Regions from separate parts of the Homo sapiens genome. Here regions 1, 3 and 4 are each linked to region 2. Evidence: promoter capture Hi-C in 16 types of primary human blood cells and fetal thymus (Javierre and others, 2016). All regions are on one chromosome and are shown on one strand. The core of a region is centred on a gene start or on the middle of the fragment in contact, and the rest is flanking DNA. Distances in the headings are between cores, read along the strand shown.

Region 1 (5,796 bases), core at 510-3,009, 490 kb before region 2:
CTCATTTATATGTAGGAAGAACAGAATTTTCACAGGAAAAGCAGAGTGGAAGATTCTTGTGTCCCCCACAGACCTGGAGTTCTTGTCTATTTCCATTCGGTACCTTTTATCTATCTTGGGCATTTAAGGAATAAACCGGCCAGAACAATTCAGATGGAAGACAAAAAATAAAATAGAATCATTAGTTCCAATTCTTCCAGAGAATTCATCTAACAAAATGAGCTGGTGTTATGGGAGGTAGAACAAAGAGAATCCTAAATTGTATTTAATCCAATAGCTTTACTTCACTAGTTAGAAAACTGAAACTTAGCAAGGTCCAATCTTTCATTGGAATGACCTTTATTTTGAGCTTATTTTAGATGTTATTATGTGCTTTGCCATAATGGGGAAAGGTGAATGGAAAATTCTGCCTTCGCATATTCCAGAGATTAGGGAGACAAGCTAAATATACCTAACTAACATACGGCTAGTTATCTATTTCTGTATAACAAAGCGAGGACTTAATGGCTTGATGGTGATTTATCACTTCTCACAGTTCTGTGAGTTGACTAGGCAATTATGTTTGTCTCATCTGGGCTCACTCATGGGGTTCAGATAGCTTGTGGCTCGTGGCTCGAGTGGGGCTTGGGACTCTAAGATGGCTTCATTCACATGCCTAGGGCCTCAGTAGGATGACTGGCATGGCCCTGAAAACTGCGAAGCTCTCTCTCTGTGCAAACTTTCACCTGGACTTTTTATATGATTCTGGAAGTATTCCAAGAAGGCAAAAGTAAAAACTGCAAAGCGTCTTAAAATAGAAGTTCAGAAGCCACATTATATCACTTCTGTTGCATTCTATCAAAGCAAGTCACAAGGACAGATCAGTTTCAAAGAGTGGGAAAATAGACTCCACCTCTTTATAGGAGGAGCTGCAAAGAATCTGTGGTCGTATTTAATCTAACACATCCGGACAACAGAGAGAAATCAGGAAGTTGAATGAGATGCAGATTTGCTCTTTTTTTTCCCCCCACCAGAATATGTATTTAAGGATAGAAGTGATGTTACAGGTCATTAATTTATTTATTCAGATATTTCAGTATTTTGACTTCTGACAAATCAAACCCATGCCAATGCTATGCTTTTATACAATTTCTACATCATAACTGGCACTCACTAAACCCACAATCAACAATGAAGAAAAAAGTAGGCACAGGCATGTTTCATAGAAACTAAAATAGACTTGGTCAGCTTATTTATTAAGCACATATTCTTATCTACTATGAAAAGTCATGACCTTCTTAGCTGAGGAAAGCAATTACTTTTGCACAGAGAATCTTTATATAACAACACAAAGGATATTCAAAATTTACCAGTTTCTGGCAAGACTAAAGCACTTAAGGCAGGCAGTGTTAATCATGCAAACTTTGTGAAGCAATTCAGCTTATCAGAGCATGAGATGAACGAAGTCAAAGCTTTGATCCTCAGATAGGCCAATATATTTCATGGAGAGAAGCCTTTTTTTTTTTTAACATAAGGATAGCTTTGATCACTTCTTCAACTACTGAGTCTTTTCTTAACCTCAAGAGAAATGAACAGAATTCAATAAGATTACCTATTTTTAAAATGCCACATACTCCAATAGATACTACTGGGGCTACAAAAAATTAGAACTATGTAGTTTTATCCTCCCCAAATCTTTCATATTGATAAGGGCAAAAAATAGGATGACACAATTGGTTTACAATGTATAAAATGATAAAGTGCTGGACAGAAGGTACAAATTACAATACAAGTTCAAAAGAGAAAGATTATATTAGTTAATCTAGAAAATGTACAAAGGAGGTGATATTGGCAGAATACCTTTAAAGATGGGGTAAAACTTTTGCCAGGGGAGAAAGGCATTCTAGATAAAAGGGAGAGAGGAGAGCAGTGAGTGTTGATTTGAAAATAAGAAAGGGTAATTCAACTGTGTAAGAATGAGAATGTACAGAGATGTGTGGCCTACTTTTCTCAGAGACAGGGGTCAAGTAAGGGAGAAATCTAAATCTTATATAAATGTTTGAAATGATATGAGAAGGAAATGTGAGGAAAGCTTGGATAGCTTTCCATCCAGAACTCAAGGGTTGGGGATCCTGGTTAGCAGGAGAGCAAAGACCAGGACCTGCAGGAGTGATGAGGAGCTGGGAGGATAAAAGGTTGCTCTTGAGTTAGTAAGGTTTCAGTTGTGAAGTAGTACAAATAACATATTTGGTTTCTGCTCTTAGTTCCTGGCACAGAACCCTAAAACCTTTGTAATTTCCTGAGTGATAGAAGTGTTAGGTGCATCTTTTGTCCTTTTATTTGGTCTTTGGCCTCAGTTCCTGACATAGAGCTTCTAATTCCTTGGAACTTTTTGGGTGATCAGAGGGTCTTTTATTCTAATGAGGTGACTCTTGGTGGGATGCTGGATGGCGGCTGGTCACCAGGAAGACCAAGGCATGGTTACAAGTTTGGAGCTTTTAGCCCCAGCCCTCATCCTGCAGGAAGGGGTGAGGGATTACACATTGAGTTAAAAATTGATTATGCCTACTTGATGAAGCCTCAATAAAGAACCCTAAACTACTGAGTTCAGAGTGCTTCCAGGCTGGTGAATACAACTATGTGCCAAGAGGGGGCACACCCCAACTTTACACATACAAAAGCTCTTGCACACAGGATCTTGCCAGACCTTGCCCTATTTACCTCTTCATCTGGGCTGTTCAGCTGTATCCTTTAAAATATCCTTTGTGATAAATTAGCAATAGTAAGTAGAATTGCTTTTCTGAGCTCTGTGAACCACTTTAGGAAATTATCCAACACTAGAAGGGGATGGCGGGAATCTCTGATTTGTAGCCAAGTCAGACAGAAATTGTGAATAATCTAGGGACCCACTACTTGTGATTAGCATCTGAAGTGAGGGGCAGTCTTGTGGTACTGAGCCCTTAACCTGTGGGGTCTTTGCTAACGGCACTGGTTAGTCTTAGAATTAAATTGCTGAACACACAGTTGATGTCCACAGGGATTGGGAGAATTGTTTGATGTGGAAAACCCACACATCTGGTCACAGAAGTGTTGAGTGTGAGTGTGAATATGGTGACAAAAAATACCTTTTTCCCATATATTTACATGGCAATTCTACCACTTTCGTAGGGATAAATTGGAGGGCAGACACTCAAACCTCCCTTTTCTCCTCAGACAAACCTCAGAAATAGTGAAACCTATAGATTATGGGGAGAGGCCTCATCTTTATCTAGGAAAGTCCTCATATTCATCAACATGAGTACTGAATAAGATGGGTATTAAATAGATGATTTTCACAGTCTTTTCTGGCATTAGCATTTTATGATTTTGTGCTTTTGCCTCTAGTAAATCTTATTATTTTGTCTATAGTAAATCCTTGACCTCTTAACTAGTTGTAATTATTTTCAAATACAGAGACAACCACAGAAAATAACATATTTGCATTATTGTGGATATACATGTTTGTGAAAGATGTAAAATATTCATAGAATAATGCAAATTAAATTGAGGACAGTTGATATTTTTTGAATTGAAGTAAGAAAAATAGGATCAAGAAAGGACACACAAAAGACTTGATATGTTTCTTTACATCTTCCTTTAAAAGTAAAACTAATGTGAATATGGTAAAATGTTACAATTAATAGTAGGTAGAGGGATATTTGATATGTTTCTTACAATGTATGTAGAGATTTTGTTCATATCAACTGCTTTAACAGTGTGAACATACAATTTATCTACATATTACATTTTAATGAACCTTTAGTTTTCTTGAAATTTTATACTAATATGAAAAAAATATTGCAAGGAAATTCTGGGAGACTGGTGGCAATACTGCCTAAACATCACAGTTATCTGAGGAATTTTTTAAAAATACATAGGCTTTATTCTAGAGGTATGCATTCCATTTTGTTTTTACATCATGGTAGACCTAGAAAATAATATTTATAGGGTGCACTGGGGTAAAGAGAAAAGTTTACTAATAGACTGTGAAAGAGGACCAGCCATGTCTGCCTCAGCAAGCACACCCAGCACCCCAAGGGCTGAGAAGATTCAAATCTCAATAGATTGCAAACTTCTTAATTTCTAACATAGCAATGTTCCAGGAACACTGGATGAACAGCTCTACTCTAGAACAGAGATTATAAAATTTAGCTGCATATTAGAATCTTCCCAGGAGCTTTTAAAAAACTGCTACGCCTAGGCTATACCCCGGAATGATTAAATTAGAATATCTGACAGTAGGATCAAGACATCAGTGATTTATAAAAAAAAAAAAAAAAAAAAACTCCCAGGTGATTCCAGCATGCAGCCAAGGTTGAGAGCCATGTCGAGCAGTATCTCTCAAATTCCTCCCACGATAACAATCACCTAGAATACTTGTTACAAATGCACATGCCCACACTTTAAACCCTTCAGCAGCTGGCTTGGGAAGCTGTATGCTTAACAATGCCTCAGGTATATGCCTAGATGCAACATTGCTGTGTCTCAACTGAGCAGTGGTGAGAGGGCTACTTTAGAGCCACTTGAAAGTCCTTATTTGTTGGAGCAATCAATGTGGCAAGTCATCTTGCTGTTTCGGATACTTTCCGTGTTTTAGAGGGCTATTCTGACCTAGGTACTGCAATACTGGGTCTGGCTGCTATTGGAAAAATTAGTTCAGAAATCATCAGGAAATGATCCCAGCCTGTGGAGGAGCTGTATAGAAAGTAGCTGTTTGCTGGTACATATCATATTGTCCATTGTGACAGGAAATAACCTTTGAGAGTCTAGCCACAGAATTCTTTCTTCCCTTTCTTTAAAAGACTGTAAAGAACACTGGCAAAAAACAAACAAACAAACAAAAAAAAAAAACAGGCTCTGGAGCCAAACGGCCTTGGAAAATCCAGGCTCCACTAAACAACTAATTGCAATCTTGGGCAATGCAATTAATCTAACCATGCCTAGGTTTCCTTCTTGTAAAAATAGTCACAATAATAACAGTACCTACCCTCATGTTGTTGTCACAAAGATTAAATAATTATAAATGCCTAGAATTTAAGTGTTTAAGAAAGATGATTAGTATTACTATTACCAATTTACACTTCTCAGTTCTTCCCTCGTTCAAGTATTCTTACATTTTTATCATCTAAACCTCGTCCCATTTTTACCCTCCCAAATTCCTATTCCTTTATTTTCACTGATTGTAACAAAGGAAAAACAAAGCAGTAAAATGCCAAAATTCTTAACTATTTATCAGATAACAAATTCTACATATTTTCTAAAATATATTAAGTACTTTCCTCTCCTTTTTTGCCACAATTATCAATAAGTAATGTTGAGAAGATAATAACACATTGACTGTATCTAGCTTTATGCTTTATGCTATTCAGATTCAATTATTTCAAGGATGTCTAGCTTTTGGTATCCCATACTTACTTTAATAACTTGTTATAGAGTTAAAATAACCTTTTTGGGCAGGAAATCAGGAAATTCTTTTTCATGTCAAAGTTTATCCGATCATGCTGAACTTTAATCCCATTTTCTCTAGGTTTGTTTTCTGTGCCCATTTAAAAAAATGGAACTTCTGAAAACTATTATTACATGATATTGATTGTAGAAAGAACTTCAAAGCTTTAAAAATTATACTAGAATGTTACAATATGTTTTTGAGTTAAATTTCATATATAAGAGGGCCTTTAAAGAAATATTAAAAGAAATAGCATAATTTTAACATTTAGGTAATTTTAACCATAAAATGGCCCCCATTATAGACCCTGAGATCAGAATTCTGTTAACATT
Region 2 (5,539 bases), core at 2,765-5,264:
TATATTATTTAAGGACATATACTGTATTGAAACCCAATTCACATCATGCTGGAATGACATCTATTATAATAGCTAATGTTTGGTGAAATTACACAGTCCATTGAAAAAAATCTAAAGTTCTGGCTCCTAGATATTCCATTGGCCTTATGGTATACCATTGATAGCAAGATACTTCCAAGAAATAAGAAATAAGATAGTGAGTACAACTGTGCCTTATTTAAAAAACTATTACATATATTATATTATAATATATACAATATCTATTATATATAATATATAATATATGATATATAAGATAGTTATTGTATTATTATATGTATAATATATAATATATTTATATATAATAATCCTAACATAATATATTATGTTAATATATAACATAATATAATATTAATATATTAATATAATATATAATATATAAATATAATATATTAATATATTATAATATTAATATAATATATAATATATCTATAATAATCCTAACATAATATACTGATATATAAATATATAATTATATATAAATATGTATGATATATATAAATTTATATATCATATATATCAAAATATATATAAATAATGATATATATAAATATATATGATTATTATATATTTATATATAATAATATATATACTATATATAATATACTGGATATATATAAATATACATATATAAATTATATATAATGTAGTCCATAAAATTTCCTAAACATTTTAAATGTTTCTTTTAATCTACAAGGTAGTGAAAATATATTTAAAAAAATAAACTAACACAGTTTGATTCAAGTGACCATTGTGCCTGAGACTGAAAGAGTAATTAAAATTTTTGCACATATCTTAATGTCTTTTCTAGGTATATACTGATCTTTTCTAGGTATATACTGCTCTAAAGTTTTAGAACACAAAGACTACATGTATCTTGCACAACAAAATTCAATCATAGCATCATCACTTGGATTCATCTAAAAATAAATGTTTAAACTAAAATTATTTAATAATCTCATTTCTGAAGCCTAAATATTATAGTATATATGATTAGAGTATGCTCTAAAGAGCTCTCTAATCAAAGGTTTCTAGCTCAACATTTTTTAAAAGTATTAACAAAGTGGCCTATGGAAAAGATTCCTTAAGGCTTTAGAAAGATATACAGGACATGTTGAAAAACTAAGGTACATAATACAGAAGAGACTCACACAGCTTTCACCTGAACATTTAACTTGAGATTATTTAAAACAGGGCATTTCTATCTATTAAAATCCCCATAGTTGTGAAAGACAAAAATTTATTTTGTACAGATTAGGTATGATATTTGTATATCTAATATTAGTACTACTGGGCATCACTCAGTATGAAATAAGAAAATGTAATAGATATTCAGTAAGCATTTTACTCACTAATTATGATTCCATAATTTCTTAACTTTTTGTTCTCAGATGTCAAATACTTACCTAGAAACTGCCACTCATTTGGTTGCTATGAGTTTTAAGATCAGTTAGCAGGTTTTTTTTCTGTCTTTCAGAGAATTGTCATCTTGGGTTCTCCCTCAAGGTAGTGAAAGTTAACTTTGTTACCCATCTGGGGATTTATAGTACTTATACTAGAAGATGCTCCAAGGTTTCAGAAAGGAATTAATTACTTTCAATTTGCACAATTTAGAACAAATATCTGGCTTTTCCCTAAGCTTAATGATTTTCCATTTCACACAACTAAAATATAATAGCATTATTTTATAATCAAGTTTAACTGATGGTCTATGATAGTAGAGCGATTTAGTATTTTGACAAAAATCTTATGAGACATGAAGTCATTCAATTTGCAGCCCCAAACTGAAGCTCAAACACAACATTTTAAAAGTATTTTCTGCCTATACCTTTGACTGCATGCTACTTTAAATAGAGGGACAAGACTAAATGGTCTATCTGGTTGTTCTTACACTTTATAAAGAGTCAAAAGCAAATTTGAGTTATAAATATGCACATCATAGTGATCATTATTTTATCACAAATAAATATTGATTTGCTTAATCAAAGAGAATACTCTCCTAGAATAAGAGCAGTATTTCAATCTGCAAACATGTTTCTTAATGTCACTGAGCATTTAGCCTATCTTCACACACACATTTCATAACCTTTCAAGGACAATCTTCTACATCACATTTTAAGGAAATACACTGAAAAAGCAATCCATTTTGCAATAGCATTTTACATTACTACAAATTCACGAGGTTCAACCTTCAATGCCCATGTACCTTTCACAAAACTATTGATCATTTCCTATCAATGCTTTACAGGATTATATCACAAAGGAACACATAATGCATGTATGTGCATCAATGCGTAAAGGAGAGGATGCATTTCTGTGCATAGTATGTGAACTGACAATGCCCACTTGCCCAGTCCTTGCTTTACTCAACTTCTTACACATCATCAGCCAGCTGCCCTGTTGATGATTCCTTGCACCTTATGCGCTGCTTTATCATTGAGTCAGATTACTACCATTTCTGGTCCAGAACTCATTAAGAAAAGTCCTTTTTCAAGCAAGGTCTTTGAAATGTAGTTGTACACCTATAAAAGAACTATCTGGAGCTCATCTTGAGAGAGAGAAGATGAATTTATCCTCTGTCTTTAGGCTTTTACTTACAGAGCCACACCTTTATAAACAAGTTCTGTCTGTCATACTGACAGGAAGGAGATATGCAAAATGTAACATCTGGAGTCATAAAATATAATGACCTCAAATAACATTCCAGAAAGAGAAAGGAAAACTAGTTCTGGTTAGGGAGAAGATAAAAGAGGAAAAGGAGTAAATTTACATCCTTAAAACAAGAGTAATAGAAAACCCTACCGGGTTTTTCCAGTAAGTTTTGTGCAGCAGCAGCAACAACCTAATCAATATGTGCTTCCTCACCCTCTTGTCCCCAAAGAGAAACTGCTGGGCCCCTCTCCACCGACTCCCCAGGAGCAGAAACTACTGCCCCCAAGGAAGGGAGAATTCAGAAGCGTGGGGAGGGGGAAAAACAGGTATATGTGGTTCTAGCATCCTCATCTTCATATCAGCTACCAGCCTGAAACTACATTCAGGAACCAGGCTCCCAGACATTCCCCGGCCCTGGGCCCTGCCTGAGCGCCAGAGAGCTTGAGGAGCCTGCAGCATAGTTCTCAGACCCGAAACAATGACCTCCCCCGTCCAAACCCAGGCACTCTTGCGCCAAGGCCCTAACCTCTCAGCGAGACCTCTTTGGGGAAGGACAAGAGATGCTGCCTGATGGCCGAGAGAAGACATGCCAGGCTTCTCTGCCAGAATGAGTTGTTGAGGGTGGGATGAAGGTGGTCAAGGAGATGGGCTCTTTATTTTTAAAACAAAAAACAAGGCAACCGGGACCACCAACATCAGTCACCCTCACTCCCCACCACTGCCTCTATTCCTTAAGGACTTCTTCCCAGGCCGGCGGCGGCGGCGGCGGCGGCGGCGGCAGCTTGCGATCATCAGGATTGGAAGTGAGAGCGAGTGCCCGGGCCAACCTCAGCGTCTCTCAGGGACAGCGCAGGTGGGCGCAGCCTTGGAAGGTCAGCGAGGCCAGAGCTCAGAGTTCCACGGGGGCCCGGAGAGTGTGCGTGTGTGAGTGAGAATGCGAAAACGCGCGCGCGCCGGGCAGAGGGGCGCTCGGCGAGAGGGTAGGCGCGGTGACAGGGGTACCCCAGCAGCCGAGGAGAGACAGCCCACCCCACCCTTTAAGCTAAAGAGCTGGAGGGGTGATGGAGGCTGCAAGACGGAGAAACTTGATGCAAAACAGACAGGCTCCCCCCTCCAAGACGTGCCGCCACGCTCTCAGACACGCTCCCTCGCCTCCCGGATTACCCACCATCAACCACCCCACCCTGCAAAATTCCCCCACCGAGCCCTAGGATCCCAGGCGGGTAATTACCTCTCCCGGAGGCGGAGTGGGGGGCGGCAGCAGCAGCAGACACTTTTAGCCTGACTTTCCTGCGTTCGCTTGCGAGCGTGTGAGCGTGTGCGCGCCCAGGAGGAGCTGTAACCTGCTATTTATAGACCGAAGCCTCAGTACCCGGGGCTGAGAACCCGGAGGAAACTAGCAGGCGGCGGCGACGGCGCAGGGCGCCGGCCGCGGCTTCGCGAGGCTCCAGCAGCTCCCCCAGCCTCTGGCTTCGGCCGCGCTCCCTGCTCGCTCCTCGCCTACCAGCCCCGCGCGCGCCCCAGAGAAGTTGTCACCAGCGCGGCTGGCTCTCCGGCTGCTCACACGCCCCCTGGCACAATTGCTACTTTCTTCCACCCCAACCCCCACCCTCCCCGCTCCTCTTCCTCCTCCTCTGCTCTCTCCAAGCGGTCTCCTCCCAATGTCACCAGCGACCGAGTAGAGGCGGCCGTGGCAGCGACAGTCGCGCAACTGGCGCTGCTCGCTTCCCGCTACTGATAGAGCGGAGATGGTGGCCCGGCTGCCCACCCCGAAATTACCACGCTGGCTCCGTGTGCTCACACCCCGTACCCCGACCCCTTTCTGCGGCCCCTCTGCCCGCTGGGTCGCCCACCCAGACTGGGCTGTGGGATCACCGCTACCGCGACGAGGGGGGACCCGAGGCCGCCACGCTGCTGCGGGGGCAGGAGAAACCACAGAGAAAGAACCCGCGGGAGGAAGAAAGCGCCCCAGACCCCGGCCTATGGCAGCGCAGTCCCTAGACCGAGGGTTTTTGGAAGGGGCTTGGGATCCCTGCTGTCACTGCCTGCGTCTAGGCATCCATTCACGCCTGCTGGACCCCAGTCTGCAGCCGCGCTGGGACCCCTGTCTCTTGCCCCTCCTCCCCCTTGCCCCGGGCAGAGGTCGGGCTGAGGAGACCAGCTTAGAGCAGCCCTCGGCCACCCACCGCCAGTTCCCACGTCGCGGCGGGTGACTGAGGCCGAGATGCTCCCAACTAGCGTATGACATGCCTTTGATATCCCGGGTGCGTGGGGACAAATCCGCCCTGAATGTGTTGGGGTATCAGGAAAACGGGGTATGTAAGCAAGCAGTCTGGACGGAGACTAAAACTCCCCCACTTCCTAGCCCCTAACAAGCCCACAGGGGAAAGCACGCACCCTGGTTATTCCGGGCTGTGTAGGGTGTGGGGCAAATGACTCTCCCCATCTGCGCTTTACAGGTGCCACCTGGCGGCTCTCTCGGAAAGGTTTTGATGGAGCCGTTCAAAGGTAAAGGTGCCCAGAGCCAGCCCATCAAGACACCCCAGCCCTTCTCCCTGAGGGCGCTTTAAAATCACATTTTAAGTAAAGCAGTGTACGAATGCTTGTACACAAGTGTTACATTTGCCATGCAAAAAGACTGGAATCTCAAAGTCAGGACAGTGAAATCAATTTGGGTTAAGTCGGGGCTTAACAGTTTCACAAACCAGGAAGCTGTATGTACCCCCAGCTGTCACCCCTGCTGTCACTGCCCGCATCTAGGCATCCTTTCACTCCTCAAACCTTTGACCACCACATTATAAGCCTTGCCAATGAGGACAGGGACTTTGGGTTTGTTTTGTTTTGTTTT
Region 3 (5,750 bases), core at 813-3,312, 470 kb before region 2:
ATTTGCTGAAACATGGATGGAACTGGAGGTCATTACGTTAAATGAAATAAGCCAGGCAAGAAAGACAAATATCATGTGTTCTCACTCCTATATGGGTGATAAAATATAGATCTCATGGAGGTAGAGAGTAGAATAATGGTTACCAGAGTCTGGGAAGGGGAGATGGTTTATAGATACACACATGCAGTTACATAGAAGGAATTAGTTATAGTGTTCAACAGCACAATAGTTAACAATCATTTACTGTTTATTTCAAAGTAGCTAGGAGAGATTTGAAATGCTCCCCACACAAAGAAATGATGAATGTTTGAGGTGATGAATATTGTAAATACCTTGATTTGATCATTACACATTCTATGCCTGTATCAAAATATCACATGTACCCCATAAATAAGTACAATCATTATATGCATAGAGGAAGGTAAAAATAAAAGCAGAAAATATCATATGCATTGGGTTCTACAATGGAAAAGACAGAGAGGGTTGGGAAGCATTTCAATGATGGGCACATCTCTCTTCCCAAGGTCTTATTTCATTTCCAGTACGACTTCTGACAGCTGGTAGAAATGTGTGCCTCTGACAGAGCAGTTTCACACATTCTCAAGTGCAAAAAGTAAGATTGACGGCATCCTTTCCATTTCCATCATCAGCTGAAGTGTCTCCTCTCTAGGAAGGAGTAATTAGCTCAGTCTTCTAGTACTGGAAGTCAAACTAAAGCATCTTGACTACACTGACTCCTGCTGCCTTCCTAGTCTCACAAATAGGAATTCATATGATTAAGCACATTTTACTTCAATCTAGGCCTTGAACCAATGACCTACCTTCTATAACTGCCTACACAATACATACATACATACACACACAGGGGCATGTAGTGCACTTCTCTTCTGGACTTGAAATACAGATGGTTTTAAACTGAATCATTTATATTCTATGCCAGAATAGAAATCAGTCTCAAATAGCTGCAGGCTCTAACAATGACTATTTTGAAAATCCAACTCCATATTATGCAGCATAGTGGAAAGAGCTCTGATTGAAGAGCCAAGTCCTGTATGTGTCATAAATTCTATTTTTGCATCTTTATTGAATAGATTGGTGCCCTTTCATAAAGCAGAAAGTGTTTGAGATGAATAGAGTAACAACATTTGACCTTTTAAGGTTCTGACAACCTAAGATTATAAATCTCAAGTATTGAGAGAAAAGTGTGTTTTCGTGAAATTGTTGGAATTGCTCCCTTTGAGACTTAAAATATATAATTAAAAACACTCCTTGCAAAATATAATAGGTATCTGAACAATAAATAATATTTACTATGTCATTTCTAGTCATCTTAGAGTATGATGATTAAGAAGAGCACAGACTCCGAAGCTAAATGGCCTGGTTCAAATCCAGTTCTACTTCATAGATTTGTGACTTTGGGAAAGCTGCTTCACCTCTCTGTGCCTCAATTTCCTCATCTAGAAAATGGGAATGACACTAATAGTATCTATGTCTTAGTACTCTTGTGAAGATTAAATGAGCAAATATGTAAGGCCTAGAGAAATGTGTCTGATACAGAGCAGTGTTACTAAGAGTTTGTTCCTGTGGTAAGGATGAAGACAAGTACATATTTAAAATATAAATATAGAACATTTTAATATAAATAAAGAGTCATTTAGGAAATATTATCTTTGGCTATATTCCCAGTTGAGAGCTTTCCTGTGGTTATTGTTAAAGCAAACAAACAAAAAGCAACTTTTCCAAAGTTAATTATAGTACTGGAATATAAATAAAAATCATGTAATAATATTAAGAACAGCAGCAATATAAACTGTCGTGCATTGAGCAGCCACGGTATGACAGGCACTCTACCAGAAGCTTAAGGAGTCAGTAATTAGACCATATAAAACAGGTGGCAAAAAAAAGGAAGAGAAAAGGAGTGTGAATGAACATGCAGAAAGATTGTTTTAGTTTAGGGTGTGTTTGAACACGTTTGTAGATAAAATGGGACAACAATTATCTCATTTTGTCCTTACAACCACCCTACGTAATACACACGCTTATTATTCCCCATTTTATTGATAAGTAAAGTAAGGCTCTCAGTGCTTAAGTAACTGGCCCATGATTACAGAATTAATTGTGTTGAAGTCTGGATATAAACCCTGATTCAGGTGAGCCACAGTTCACATTCTTAACCACATAGAGGCCATTGTTCTAAGCAAAGATGCATTTTGTATGCTATAATTTTTTTCTTATAACTTTTCTTTCAGTCATCTAGATTTCTCAGCAAAGCTTACCCAGATAGGTAAACATTTTGGAAGATGTAGAATAGAGAAGATTTTTTAGAAGGGGAGAAGTGGGAGAGAGCTTTCCATATTGCAAATTTTTGAGATGGTATGGGAAACAGCATATATGCCACTATTGAATGTAACTTCGGATATATTCTTTCATTATTCTACATGAGTTTTTAAATTACATTTACTTTGGATCCTTCAGTTTTGTCAAGCTCATCAAAATCATCTTTTTATTGATATTGTTATTAATGTTAAGAAATGACTAGACAACACTAATTTCTTCATGCTTCTTAAGGAAGTCACATTACTGGTGATCTTCATATAACACAATTTACTCCCAACCAGAATCTCCAAATATGTCATGAAAAATAATTATCAATTCCGTTTTTTATTCAATGAGGTAGGTCTAAGAGAGGCATTTTATTATTTCTCATTTGGTAAATTGATCCAAGGAAGGAACTGTAATGTATATAATACTGTAGAAGAAATTTTATAATCTAAACTTAAAAAATAAAAGCAGTGACTTCTAGTAAAGGTAGGAACAATTACCAAGAGATCTCCAGCTCTCCGTTCTGGAACCCTCACTTAAACACCCTAAACTAATACAACCTTTCTGTGTGTTCATTCACACTCCTTTTCTCTTCCTTCTTTTTGCTACCCATCTTATACGGTCTAATCACTCACTCCTTAATCTCTCAGATTCTAATCTCTTTTCAGCACCTATTTTCTGAAAGGCCAGCAACCTCCCAATCAATAAATCCATTTTTTTTTCATCTTCCTTGACAGCTCTGTGGAGCTAGTCAACACTGACCAACCTTCCTCTTTGTCTTAAAATTCTTCCATAATTTGTTTTTCAGGACACTGCACTACTTGCTTCCCTCCCCCACCCTTTTTTTCTTACTACTCTTAATCTTGTAACTGAAAGCTGATCTTTTCATTCTCCATATGTCAGTGTCAGTATTTCTCAAGGTTCTTTGATCATTTTCTCCTTCAATGTTTATTTCTCGAGTCATTTTCAAAGATCACTTCTGTAAGGATGCCTCCCAAATCTTTATTCCAAACCCTGTGGCTGTTTGCTTAATAAAAAAGTCATTTCCAACCAGCTTTTTTGCACATCCCACTCTAAGGAGTTTGGAAGTAGAGATACTTGCTTTATCAGCTTTCCTTGCTACTATTGGTAGCCATGGGACACAATTTTGGCAAATGAAATTAGAGAAAAAAGTCTAAGAGAGGTGTACTTTCTTGAATAAAAGGGACAAAATCAGAGGTACTACTCCTTTCCCCTTTGCTTCCTGGCTTATAAAGCAAACATAAGGCCTTAGAACTTTTGCATTTATCTTGCAACTATGCAGTGAGAGACAAGCATGTGAACTAAAGGTCAAGATGATTAGCATGGTAAAGTGGAAAGAGAAAAATCCTGGGCCTTTGATAATATCATTAGGAATCTGACCCAATAACAGCAAGTGCCCACACCTGGACTTTTTGCTGCGTGAGGGAAAAAATAAAGCCTAATTATTTAAGCTACTATTAGACAGACGTCTCTAGACAATAAAAATCTTGTCACTGTATCTTCATTCCATTCACTTATTTCCAAATTATTGCTTTGATATTTCTACATGGATATCCATCTGCAGGTCAAATTTATTATAATGAAAATCAAATTGATATAAAGAGGCCTGTGCATATGTCATTTCTTTATAGTTTCTTAATACATGGTAGCATTTTATATGGAATAAGTATTGAAATATTTAAGTAAATTAGTAAATTGTGACACAACTGAAACCTAGTGTAGCAAATATAATTTCTAGGAACTTTCAATTAGTGGAAATAGCATGAAGATATATAGTTCTTCTTCCCACCTGACTATTTTCATCTTGATATTATCAGCATCCTGGGATAAGATCTCATGATGACCTGAAAACATGGCTTTGTTCCTCTCAGATGTCAGTTCTTCTACACTGAAGTCACATATATAACCCAGCTAACCTAAAACAGGCACCAAATGATACTGACTTCTTGTAATGATGACAGCTATTACACAGCAATGTAAGGTAGCATTATCAAAATGGAACAATTGAAAGGTCATCAGAGCATTTTGGCATGTGTTTTCAGATCCACTGACTCTCTGAGCTTGATGCGTTATCTAACACAGTTACTCTAGACACCTGTGGACACTTCAAAAAGTGAGTCCCTTTCCCTCCTTAAGAAATTCAACTTTAAAAGGCCGCTCTTAGCCACATCTCCAAGTATGGTTATCATCAGCAATGAGCTAAGTGGAAATCATCACCCAACTCAAATTATTAATGGAGTTATGTACCTTAATACTGTTCCTGAGAAACTTCCTATAGTTCAGTGGATTCATGGTGGAAAACTCTGAATCTGGCCCACATTTCAATCTGATTTTGAGCAAATTACTCAAATTCAGTTTCCAGTTGCCTAATCCACATGGTAATACGACAAGGTCCCTATTGAGGATCAAATGTGGTGCTCTCTGTACAAATTATTTGTAATTAATGAAGTTTTAAATCATTTATTTGTTCTCTATTTTATGTAATGTCACAAATCGAGTTAACACTGCTGCAAGTGCTATGTATAGCCATAATGTTACATTACCATTTCCTTTAATTTTTCATGCATTAACACCACTTATACTCCTATTTGATGTTTAAGTAATGGCACTTAAGCCTTAATTCGATTTCATCTTTAATGTTTCCAAGAGTCTAACTGGTTATTTTTTTCTCACAGGAAAAAAAAAATTTTTAAAACAAATTTTAGGTGGCTCCAAACAATCTAACCTGGTTAAACATTGGTCCATTTCACGAATTTTTCCTGAAATTCGTAAATTTCAGGCTAGTGAAGAAACATTTTGCTGATCTTTTTTTTCTGACAAATGTCTTAGAAGGAAGCAAAGTAGGATTGTGAGGAAAGTTAAAAAAAAAAAAATCCTTATCTGCTGCTTTTACCTTCTGCCATGTCCAAGGTCAAAGAATCCTACAAAAGCCTTTCATTTGGAGCAGTTTGAATGATGTCTCAAATATCAAACTGGATGACGACTCAGAGTCAGAAGAGTGAAAAAGAGGGACAAGGTAACATGCTGCTCAAATAAGTATGATTTCGAAAGTGAATCTGGAAGAAGAGGGGTTTTTCTCTCCTTATTCTTTCTTATGTGTGGCTCAAGAAGACACAACCATAGGCATATTGCCATCTGTAATGTAGGCAGAAATGAGAATCAGGTATCAAAATGACATTATTATGATGGAAAATATGAGCATTCATATGCAGTAATCATGTTTTTCAGTTTCTCTCTTTTCAAAAAAATACTCAAGAAATGAATGTTGGACTATCAGAATGCAGAGTATTAGAGTAATTAAATACTAAAATAAATACAGAAAAAATAAGTACTTATTCATTACTCTTCATAGATTTCAAATTCAAACAACCCTGGTGCACCAGCATAAGCTCTGCACCCAGCCACAA
Region 4 (5,360 bases), core at 1,923-4,422, 400 kb before region 2:
TCCCCATCAGCTTGGCCAAGACTTTCTTAAAGCTGTACTATAGTCTGAGGCTCTTCCTGTGTAATTCTCCCCCTTCCGTCTCTGTGTGGAAGTGTCATACAGGTGTATTACAGTCTGAAGATTCTCCCACCCTGCTCTCTCACCTTTATCCTTCTCAAGTGTCCTCCCAATAAATCTTTTGCATGTCTCATTTCATCTTGGCATCTGTTTCTGAAAGACCCAAACTGACACAAACACTTAGTAAACACTACTATGGGAATATATTCCCTCCTTCATGGATTCTTTCACATTTTATTAATTTATGTACCTATCTATATGTGTGTGTATTTATTTGGGCTGATTCTTGACAGAACAGAAATTCTGAGACATGAACAAAAGAATGCACAAAGTCAAGAGTTTAATCAATTTTTCCTCCTATGAAGCAGCATACAAGTAAGAAAGAAACTCTCTAATGTTGGTATTCCCTATCAGCTTCTAGCCAAAATTTAAAACTCTCTCTGAGCCAGTTATGGAGTTGAGTTGATGACAACCTATGATATCAAATATGCAGAAGAAACGGGTCACATTACACCCAATGGCTTTCTACATTCCATTCTATCATCCTCAGATACATTCCTAATTGACATACCTTCAAATTCTATGGGCCAGGTTTAAGTGCCACCTCATCCATGATGACTTCTCTTTCTTCAGCTGAAAGCAATACCATGCTCTCCTAAGTTCCCCTAGTAACTTATCTCACATAATTTATTACTGTTTATTTTCTACTTTATAGATATACATTTTTTCCTCTGCTTTTTAATAAAATAACTCTGTCAGAACGTAAATTTGATTCTCTTATTTCCCCATAGCAACAAGATTGATTCCAATAAGCACTAGATAAATCTATTCATCCATTTATTGTATAAACAAACATTTATTAAGAAGTCACCATGTGCAAGGCACTGAGCACACAGAAATAACTAACTTAGGATTGGCCTTTAAAAGAATTCAGTCTTAGTAGGAGGAAATCAAATGAATAGTTACAGTGGAATGTGATAACTGCCATGAAAGGGATATTATCAGAGTATAGGGCAGAAGGAAAGAGCACCAAATAAGGGCTCAAATAAATCCAGGATGACTGCATGGAAGAGGCTCCAGGAAGTGAACTACGTGAAGGGGAGAGTCCTGGCAATTCTAGGCCAACGGAGCAGCAGGAATGAAAGATGTGGGAAAATAAGAATATGACAAGTCAGAGAATTGCAAATAGTTCAGTTTGGCTAAATCCAAGATGTTGGTTTTCCTAATGTTTTTTATCCTGTCAATGAAATTTTTTCATATGAAATATAATGGCTTATATGTAAAACAGATAAAAGCAGAGCTGCTCTGTTTGGTGTGGGCTGGGAAATACAAGCCCTATTAACCCCCTGCCCGTCATTCACTCCTTGCCTTCACTTTTTCTCTCATGGAGCTTTAAAAATACATTCTTAGAACTCAATTTGAAAACTTTGAGTCTCCTTCTTTTTTAAAATAAATACATTTTATTGTGTATATTTAAGATATGCACATGACGTTATAAGATACACATATATGGCAAAATAGTTACTATGGTGGAACAAATTAACATATTCATCATCTTATTCATTTACCTATTTTGGCCCCTGTGGCAAGAGCAGCTATAATCTACTCATTTAGCAAAAATGCTGAATAAAATACTATTATTAAGCACTGTCCTCATGTTGTCCATTAGATTTTTGTGTGTATGGTGGTGGTTATTCCTTATCTGAGATGAGAATTGCTTCCAGAGAAAAACTAGCAAGACAAGCGGAGATCAGAGAAAAAGCTTGAAGGCCAGGCTAGAGAGAATAAGCTTAATTATGAGAGCAGAAAGAAGCCACATTAGATATACTTAAGCAAGAGAGTGACATGATCATACGTGAATTTTAGAAAATCCACTACAGTGTCAAAAAGTAAAGACTGTACTGAAAGGTGGTAGCTTGATAAGAAAAGCAACCTATTTAGAGGTTAATATTCAAGGAAAATAAAATAATAATGAGGGTTAAGCCAAGATAGAAGTATATGATTAGAGAACAGAATCTAGATTCTAAGTTATTAAATAGAATTACCTGATGTTGGTGATAGAATTAGATGTGATATCAGAGGTGAATTCATGCAAAAGAGAAAGATCATGCTACCTAGTAAATTACAAGCCACTAACCTATCAGGAGAGAATAAAAGGAATTTTAGTCAAGGATAGTTAATTTAGTTTTACTCATGTTGTTCTGAGGTGCCTTAGAAACACACATGGGTCTAAATTTTCTGGAGAAATATTAAGTCTAGAGAAGTATCTTTGGTTAAGTGTATTTGGCTAATGGTTAAAACCAAATAATTCATGAAGTCACTAAAAAAATGCATATAGTGAGAAGAAGAGAGGGCTGAGGAATTAATCTTAAGGTGCAAAAATATTTAAGGGGACAAGAAAAGAAGTTAGTTGGAAAAGGCATGGTCAGTGATGGGAGGAGCAGCAGGTAGGAAGAACAGAGGGAACAGTGTCATCACTCTACTTAGCTGATATTTCTCAAGCAGATAAGGCCACTGAGTTAAGAAATAGCTTTTTTTTTTTTTTTAATAATTGGGATACATAAGCACATTTAAATGCTGAAGTAACATGGCCAGAAAAGAGAGAGAGAGAGAAATAGAATTGAACATTAAGGAGATACAAGCAAGGCAAAATCCAGGTGGTACAATCCACTATAATTAAAGAAAGGAAGGTGAGTAGAAAATGATGCATGATCTGAAATTGATGATGCTCTTACCAATGGCTTTATTTTTTTTCTTAAATAAAAAAGCATATTTATGAACTCAATGTAGAAAAAGATTTTTCAACCCAACTTCAAAAGCATAGACCATAAGAAAAACATGGGCCAGGCACGGTGGCTCACGCCTACCTGTAATCCCAGCACTTTGGGAGGCTGAGGTGGGTGGATCATGAGGTCAGGAGTTCGAGACCAGCCTGGCCAACATGGTGAAATGCCATCTCCACCAAAAAATACAGAAATTAGCTGGACGTGGTGGCATGTGCCTGTAATCCCAGCTATATGGGTGGCTGAGGCAGGAGAATTGCTTGAACCCGGGAGGCGGAGGTTGCAGTGAGCCAAGATCATGCCACTGCACTCCAGCCTGGGCAACAGAGCAAGACTCCATCTCAAAAAAAAAAAAAAAAAAAGAGAGAGAAGAAAAAAATAAAAAGATGAATAAATCTGACTACTTTAAAATTAAATGTTCTGTGGGCAAAAGATGTCATAAAAAGTGAGGAAACAAACCACGGACTAGGAAAATATATTTGTCACATAGAAGGTACCAGTTTCCATTTAGGATGTACAAAGATATAAAAGAATGACTCCCACCCTAACTTCAAGGAAAACTTAAATGATGCATGAAATCATAAGTTTTCCTTAACTAGTAAAACAGATGAGGTCTCAGGGCAACCAACTAGTTGGATACCTAAGGAAATTTACATGTCTCCATGGAGCAGAGCATGGTAGGAAGATATGTCAGGCACTGTATTAGTCTGTTCTCACACTGATAATAAAGACATACCTGAGACTGGGTAATTTATAAAGAAAAGAGGTTTAATGGACTCAAAGTTCCATACAGCTGGGGAGGCTTCACAATCATGGTGGAAGGCAAAGAAGAAACAAAGGCACATCTTACATGGCAGCAGGCAAGGGAGAGCTTGTGCAGGGGAACTCCCATTTATAAAACCATCAGATCTCGTGAGACTTATTCACTACCATGGGAACAGTATGGGGGAAACTGACCCCATGATTCAATTATCTCCACCTGGCTCTGCCCTTGACACATAGGGATTATTACAATTCAAGGTAAGATTTGGGTAGGGATACAACCAAACCATATCAGACCTCAAAAAACCTGGTAATAAGAATTCAGCCAAAATATATAATGTCATCTGTGGGCTAGCATGAGAATATAACACTCCTGAGAGCCTTTACTCAAGAGTATTCTGCACTGACTAAAGGGTCTTCTTTATGGACCTCACCCAAATGCCCATGAGAATGATTGGAAGCAGAGTGGGTGCCTGGAGAAAGTGTCCCTTTGAGGTACATGCCTGCTGAAGGGGAACAGCAGTAATTGCAGGAAAAGTACAAAGACCCACTTGGATCCTCTTTCCTACAGAACAAAAATGACAGACCCTGCTGACCTTAGGTGAAGACTCATTGAAATTAGAAAGGGAGGAGCAGTAAATCTTCCTGGGATGACACCACTAGAGATCCTCTGATCCTTTATTACTATAGAGTGATCGGATCACTGAGAAAGTCCCACCCCAAGACCCAAGAACATCGGGCCTGTCTACAACCAAGCATGAAAGATGACGATAGAGAATGCCTCTGCCCCCGCCACCAGGCTGAGACACCAAGAAACAGGTGACAGAAGGCTACCTCCCACCAGAGGGGGCATGCAAGCACAAATAATGAACCTCTCTCAGGTAGAAACTTCCAAGAAAGCTTAAAGTAGAGAGTGGAGAGTGGAGAGCAGTCTCCAGGCATCTAAACCGCACTCTAAGCACAATTTAATATTAAAGTAGAATAAAGAGGGGAGGAAGAAGAGAAGAAGATAAAGGAGAGGGAGAAAGAAGAGGAAGAGAAGGAAAAGTGGGGCAGAAGAGGAGAAGGATGAAAAAGTGTCAAAAGCAAAAGCAAAAAAATAATATGTACATATATACCAAGAGACCCAGACTCAGATATTACCCAGGTATTAGAACTAACAGAAAGGGAATATGCTAAAAACTCTAGTGGAAAAAGTGGAGAAGTTGCATGACCAGATGGGGAATTTTAGCAGAGATAGAAGCTATAAGAAAGAATAAAACCAAAATACTAGAAATGTAAATAAAACATAATAACAGAGATGCAGAATGCCTTTGACAGGCTAACCAGTAGGTTTGACACAGGCAAGGAAATAATCAGTGAACTTGAAGATAGTCTAATAGAAATTATCCAGACTTATACATTTAAGTTCCTTGTAGATTTTTGACAGTAGACCTTTGTCAAATGGATAGATTGCAAAAATTTTCTCCCATTCTGTAGGTTGCCAACAAACAACCCCATCAAAAAGTGTGGGCGTAGGATATGAACAGAGACTTCTCAAAATAAGACATTTATGTGGCCAACCAACATGAAAAAAACCTCATCTTTACTGGTCATTAGAGAAATTCAAATCAAAACCACAATGAGATATCATCTCACACCAGCTAGAATGTTGATCATTAAAAAGTCAGGAAACAACAGATGCTGGAGAGGATGAAGAAAAATTTACACTCCCACCACACTGTTGGTGGGAGTGTAAATTAGTTCAACCACTGTAGA

What was found. Contacts are between HindIII fragments. The CHiCAGO score rates a contact against its expected background, and 5 or more counts as called.
Region 1: a contact is called between a fragment that was not itself captured here and the fragment with the promoter of INPP4B in region 2, in 13 of 17 cell types (fetal thymus, M2 macrophages, megakaryocytes and 10 more). The highest score is 25.0, in fetal thymus.
Region 3: a fragment that was not itself captured here is called in contact with the fragment with the promoter of INPP4B in region 2 in 3 of 17 cell types (fetal thymus, M2 macrophages and megakaryocytes); the score reaches 5.5 in fetal thymus.
Region 4: a contact is called between a fragment that was not itself captured here and the fragment with the promoter of INPP4B in region 2, in 2 of 17 cell types (non-activated CD4 T cells and megakaryocytes). The highest score is 5.7, in non-activated CD4 T cells.

Annotation. Positions count from the first base shown.
Region 1 is chr4:142,354,369-142,360,164 of GRCh38, forward strand. The region is part of intron 7 of INPP4B (inositol polyphosphate-4-phosphatase type II B); the gene reads right to left. Among named protein-coding and RNA genes, the nearest start is that of INPP4B, 490 kb to the right of the region's middle. The HindIII fragment of the contact is 620 bases long and covers 1,450-2,069 here.
Region 2 is chr4:142,842,287-142,847,825 of GRCh38, forward strand. It overlaps INPP4B (inositol polyphosphate-4-phosphatase type II B), which reads right to left and starts at 4,015. Exons shown (of 26, transcript NM_001101669.3): 1 at 3,923-4,015. All of the region lies in intron 3 of USP38-DT (USP38 divergent transcript), which reads right to left. RefSeq lists an enhancer at 4,772-5,358. The HindIII fragment of the contact is 4,051 bases long and covers 1,677-5,539 here.
Region 3 is chr4:142,372,124-142,377,873 of GRCh38, forward strand. All of the region lies in intron 7 of INPP4B (inositol polyphosphate-4-phosphatase type II B), which reads right to left. Among named protein-coding and RNA genes, the nearest start is that of INPP4B, 470 kb to the right of the region's middle. The HindIII fragment of the contact is 414 bases long and covers 1,856-2,269 here.
Region 4 is chr4:142,439,229-142,444,588 of GRCh38, forward strand. All of the region lies in intron 3 of INPP4B (inositol polyphosphate-4-phosphatase type II B), which reads right to left. Among named protein-coding and RNA genes, the nearest start is that of INPP4B, 400 kb to the right of the region's middle. The HindIII fragment of the contact is 2,656 bases long and covers 1,845-4,500 here.